Linked DNA regions of Homo sapiens: region 2 is linked to region 1. The links are contacts of gene promoters, found by promoter capture Hi-C in human tissues and cell types (Jung and others, 2019). All regions are on one chromosome and are shown on one strand. The core of a region is centred on a gene start or on the middle of the fragment in contact, and the rest is flanking DNA. Distances in the headings are between cores, read along the strand shown. Region 1 holds the start of LY75 (lymphocyte antigen 75). Region 2 has its middle 200 kb from the start of TANK-AS1.

The links. Contacts are between HindIII fragments. The study calls those that stand out against the background at their distance.
Region 2: a fragment that was not itself captured here is called in contact with the fragment with the promoter of LY75 in region 1 in 1 of the 25 tissues and cell types used here (dorsolateral prefrontal cortex).

The regions. Positions count from the first base shown.
Region 1 is chr2:159,903,313-159,906,012 of GRCh38, reverse strand. It overlaps LY75 (lymphocyte antigen 75), which reads left to right and starts at 1,257. Exons shown (of 35, transcript NM_002349.4): 1 at 1,257-1,424. The coding sequence starts at 1,331. LY75-CD302 (LY75-CD302 readthrough) reads left to right here and starts at 1,257. Exons shown (of 38, transcript NM_001198760.1): 1 at 1,257-1,424. The coding sequence starts at 1,331. RefSeq lists silencers at 1,055-1,296, 1,066-1,525 and enhancers at 1,706-1,785, 1,926-1,975, 2,196-2,245, 2,296-2,345. The HindIII fragment of the contact is 14,335 bases long and covers 1-2,700 here.
Region 2 is chr2:160,963,142-160,965,841 of GRCh38, reverse strand. No RefSeq gene overlaps it. Among named protein-coding and RNA genes, the nearest start is that of TANK-AS1, 200 kb to the left of the region's middle. The HindIII fragment of the contact is 4,944 bases long and covers 1-2,700 here.

The DNA of each region.
Region 1 (2,700 bases), core at 8-2,507:
TTCTAGCCATGCTGGCAGCTGATGAGATGGTGCCCACCCAGACTGAGGGCTGGTCCGCCTCTCCCAGTCCACTGTTAATCTCCTTGGCAACACCCTCACAGACACACCCAGGAACAATACTTTGCATTCGTTCATATCAATCGAGCTGACAATATTATCCATCACAGTGCCTCAGTCTCCCCAGTATTCAGGGGAGGGCAGAGATGTTGTCTTTTTGTCCTTCTGTTCCATGGCGTGCCCAGATCCTGTGATGGCAGGTGCTCACTATATCTATGGAACTGAAAGGCCAGACCCTGGGGAGAGGACAGAGCAGGTTTGGGAGCCAACTGTGAAACCTTGGCAGTGGGAGTCAGGAAGAGCAACCTAGGTCTTTGCATCCTCATGCAACAAGGATGGAGGCCACCTCAAGTACACATTATGTGCTCAGCAAAGACGAGATTTAAAAGTATAAAACATTCACATTTGAGCAACTTAGGTCATTAAGAATTTGGCCTCTTTATAATGATAGCAGTGTCCACAGGAAGAGAGTGAGTGGGACATGAAATTTCTGGTTCTGCATGCAGACTTCTACATTTCTACCAGCTAATTATTATTATCATTAAATTATTAAGCAAAGAGCTTACTCGCAAAGGTCAACTTTTTATAAAGCATAAGTCATCCTTGGAAGTGTCGTTTGGTCATTCTAGTAATTCTTGCTTTTAATTCTTTAACAACTATGGGTAGAACTGCAGTGTACCATTATTCCACCTTTGTTTGCACTGTCAAAATACCCAAGACGTTGCCAAGGACGACTGAATTCTTAGGCTTGGCCGCAGCCACCCACAGGGCAGGTGCTCACTTCCTCCTCCGGGGTAGAAGAGATCATGGGTCCCTTTCCAGTCCAGGCTGGAATGGAGAAGTCGTCCCTGACCACAGTGCGCCAGGCAGAGGCCAAGGTTCTAAACTGATAGAACCCACCCACCAGGGCGGTGCCAAGTCCCAGTAAGGGCCGCATCTCCCCAGCTTGGCTGATGAAGAGGCGGGGACCGAACCCTCCAGTGCAGGAGCCTGTCTGGTGCCTGGCTCTCCCACCGATCCGCACGTACCTCTTCCTCGCGGGTCCTACCCCACGCAGGTATCTAGCGCCCAGCCCTGTTCATTTCCCACACCTGGCCCGCTCCGCCCCGGGGCCGAGGAGACGCACGTCTGATTGGCCGAGGGCGGCGGGGGCGGGGCCGGGGCGCCCCCAGAGGCCTAGACAGAGGTGCGGGCGGGGCAGGCCGCGCTCAGCAGGCGGGGCGGGAGCCGCGTGCGCCCGAGGACCCGGCCGGAAGGCTTGCGCCAGCTCAGGATGAGGACAGGCTGGGCGACCCCTCGCCGCCCGGCGGGGCTCCTCATGCTGCTCTTCTGGTTCTTCGATCTCGCGGAGCCCTCTGGCCGCGCAGGTAACCGCGGGCACGCCAGCCCCGCAGTCCGCTGGGTGCCTCGACGCCACAGCTCTGCTGCCTTCCAGCCTGGGGCAGGGCTGCGCCCCTGGGGCAGGTCACGGCTGCTTTGCTGTTGGGGCGGGGGGGCTCTGGAGCCGGAAGAGTGAGTCGCAGGGGAGGTCTGGCAGAGGAAGCGCCCCAGTGCCCTCGGGGGCCCGGAGGAGGGCGCGGTGGATGTGGGAGGACAGGGCCCTTCTGGTGCAGAGGGGACGCGGTGCACCGTAGAGTAGGCGCACGGAGGCTTTTTTGGCCGGGTGCGCTGCTCCATCGTCGCCTCTCTTATATAATGTTGCTGGAGTATGGGGTTCCCCATCTGCCCTCTTGCGTCCCGTCCCTCCCGTTCTCGCTTTTCCTTCGGCCCTTGGTCACCTTGGCCACAGGGCCAAGAGGAGCCTCCACCCACAGCGCCAAGGATTCCCCACGATTCCCGGATTTCACTGCGCCTACGGTGCGCATCAGGAAGGAAGTCAGGTTAAATAAACCATCTCCTCCGAAAGTGACCAAGACCAAGAGTCAGCTATGATGCCCTCACCCACCGCCTAGAGCAACAAACCTTTCTTCTCATTGGTTTATCAGCTCCAAATGACCCCGCTCCCCCAAGGCTGACAGCCTCACGGTGAAGGGCAGGTCGCCTGCTTGGGGACCTGCTGCCTCTCACTGCGGAAGCAGGACCAGAAACAGACAGCCTTCATTGATGTTCAGGGTAGTGCCAGCCCCACCACACCACACCCCTTGGCAGCAACCGGTTGCTTTTACTTTCTCTTTTTGCCTGGGCGAGGGGTGTGCAGAGAACTTTGTTTCTTGGTTGGACTGCATCATGGGCACTCAATGGGCCACCCTCCACCGGCCACTTCTGTTATCGTGCCTGTATGAGGAAGGAAAAGATTGTCCAGGCAGTTTGAAAAACATTAAATTGTTGGTGGCTCTTATTTTCTTTGCAGCTAAGCTAAGTTACCATCTGGTTTAGACTTCCTTCGGAGAGCGATGGGAAGAGATTTCTCAGAGTGTGAATGGCATCATCCTATCTACAGCAAGGACCTGGAAATGAACCCTGCTCTGAGTCACACTTCTCTATTCTCCTTTGACCCTGTGTGCTAGGAACTACCAAAAGAATCCTTTAAAATAAGATCCTTTATTGCCTTGATAATTTATTCTGCCTGCCCCACAATCCAAGGTGGAAAAGTTCACTGCAGCAACTAACTACAGTGAAAATGCACTAACTTTTCAATCACTA
Region 2 (2,700 bases), core at 71-2,570, 1.1 Mb before region 1:
CAAGGGAGTGGGATTTTCCAGCCACTAAAGGAATTGATGTTTCTGTGGAACACAAGCTTCCTAATAACAGGTGATGACTTAATACAGGGAAGGAAGAAGCTCACAGGGGCCTTTCTTCTAAGGAATCCTTTTATGTTTACAAGGAGTTTATAAGATAGATATATATTTCATGTATTTTAAAGTGTTTATCCACAGATAATGTCCTTAAATCACCTAAGGGTTTATCTCACACATCTTTCTCTGTCTTGCCTCAAATTACTCATTTCCAATACTGGCCTCTCTGTTAATTAAATGGTATGTCTATGGGGGCATTTCCACTTGAATGATAATTAATGTGTTTTTTCCCAATCCAGCTGCCCATGAACTCTAGTAGATAAATTGTTTTGTGTATAGCACATATTCAAGGCTGGGCTTGGATAATGATGTCCTGCTCAAATTAATAAAAAAAAAAGAAAAAGAAACATTGTCCAACACACAAGAACTCTTCTTTACCTTTTTACAATCTGGGTATGTTGGGAGAGGAAGAAAAATATTCATAAATAAGAGCACCAAAATACCACAGTAACCATGGTGGAAGCTACATTGACCTTTTGGCTGATTTTCATAATCATTTTATATCCTTGTCTGTGTCTCCTAGTGGTTTATAAGCATATGGTTTCTTAGACATGTATAAATTAAGATTAGTTTATTTTAATATTTTTGGTTCCAGAAATATGCTAAACTTGTGACAAATTTACTTCGTAATGCACCAAATCTTCTTTTCGATTTTATATATGCTTCTAATGCTTTTTAAATGAGAGGCAGAATGTGGTATAGTGGTTAAAGGCTTAGGATCTGATATGAGATCCACATTCAAATCTTGGCTTCACCATTTGGCAACTATGAGACCTTAGGGGGTTTCTTAACTTCTTTGTACCTGACTTTTCTCATCTATAAAGTGAGAATAATAATTAATCATCACATAGGGCTATTGTGAGGATTAAGGGCATTATTTTTATAAAACAAATAGAACAGTGCCTGGAGGATACTACTAACTACATGAACTATTAATCAGTATTTTCAAAAGGAAATATTATAACAAAGCGGATTTACTGGAAAAAATGCCAAAACATGTCTTGTTTTATACCACACTCTCGATTGACAGAAGTCTCAGAAAGTGAAATTTTAGCTCCAGAATACTATGATTTCAGCAGATGAATAGTGTGGGCATCAAATGTATAGTTTTAATGAATGTGAACCTCAAAGAGAGGAGCTGTAAATCTAAATGGCAATACAGGGGAGAATTGCCCATCTCAACAGGTGAGCATCTAAAGGTGAGCTTCATCCTACTATAAAGGGAGAGGAGTGGCTTTGGGGCAAAATTCCCATCAGAGTACCTTGCTTAAATAAACCCTATTATTTCATTTTCTCAGTTCAGACTTGGCCTCCCCTTACCCAGAGCAAAAATGACATAAAAATTATATATCTAGGAAAACCAAAATTTAAAAATCGTTGGCCTTACAATGCCTACTCCTGATTCAGAATGGTAAGATTAGGGAAAGTGTCATTGAAACTGGGTTATTCCATCTGCTGATGCCAAGTATGTTTAGAGAGCTTTAACCTGGCTTGATTATTGATAATGGGACCTGAGCGGGGGAGCTTCCAAACCAAAACGTTAGCATTGTTGCATAATAAATATCCAGAAAGGAAGTTGAGATCATCACAGTTAGGAAAAGCTTGCTGATGTAAGCTTTAGAGAGAAACAGGTCAACTGGAATTTCTTTTGGAAAGAATTGTCTTCAGAGCTTTAGAAATGCTATTAGATGGTCATTTTTTTCAATGCTCCCAAATTTGCTTAAAGAAATTAGGAACTCACAGATTGACCTAGCTAATGTTTATGAAACACTTCTGAGTGCTGAGCCCTGTGTTATACACCTTATATGTTATTTTGTGTAATCCTTTTGTAATCTTAATTAATACTTTCCACTTTAAAGCTGAGGAAGCTGAGTTTCAGACACATGGCTGATAAATAAGTAAAGCTGGGATTCAAACCCAGGTTGTCCAATTGAAGTCCATGTGCTGTTAGTCTTAAGCACTCTATTCTCTTCATGAGCTCACATAAAGTGTAAAAATGAGAGTTGATAGGTATCTATACAGCTTCATCATCAATTCTAAGACCTAAGAAATAATTATGCTGTGAGATTTCCATAGATATTAATAATAATGCCAACAATTGGACTAAACTTTACAACACTGGGAAATCATAGTTTCTTCTCACAATTACTAAGATCAATTTTCTTCTGTTGAAGAAGTGGGCAAATTGCACAGATAAAGCTAGTCCTGAATGGAATTGTTCCAGTAATATTAAGGCTCAATAGTAGCACCTGGAGAAATAGCACAGCAAAGCTTCTGCTGACGCTGGGCACTGCACTGACCTGATATTTGAAACTGTGAGCTTCACAGTCTGCTTAATAATTAAAGCAATTTATCTTCAGGTGAATCTAGGCCATTTTGTTATTTCAACATGAAATTCTTGGGGAATAGAGATGCCTATAGAGAATCTCTGTTGTGTAAACACTAATATGGAAAGTAAGTAGGTAACTCTTTGAAATGCTGTCAACTATACGGCCACTAGAACTTTGGCCACTATCGGAACTAATGCCACTACAACTGGCTGGAAAAGACTTAGACATTGGCAGCAAGGTAACTTACCAGAGGGTT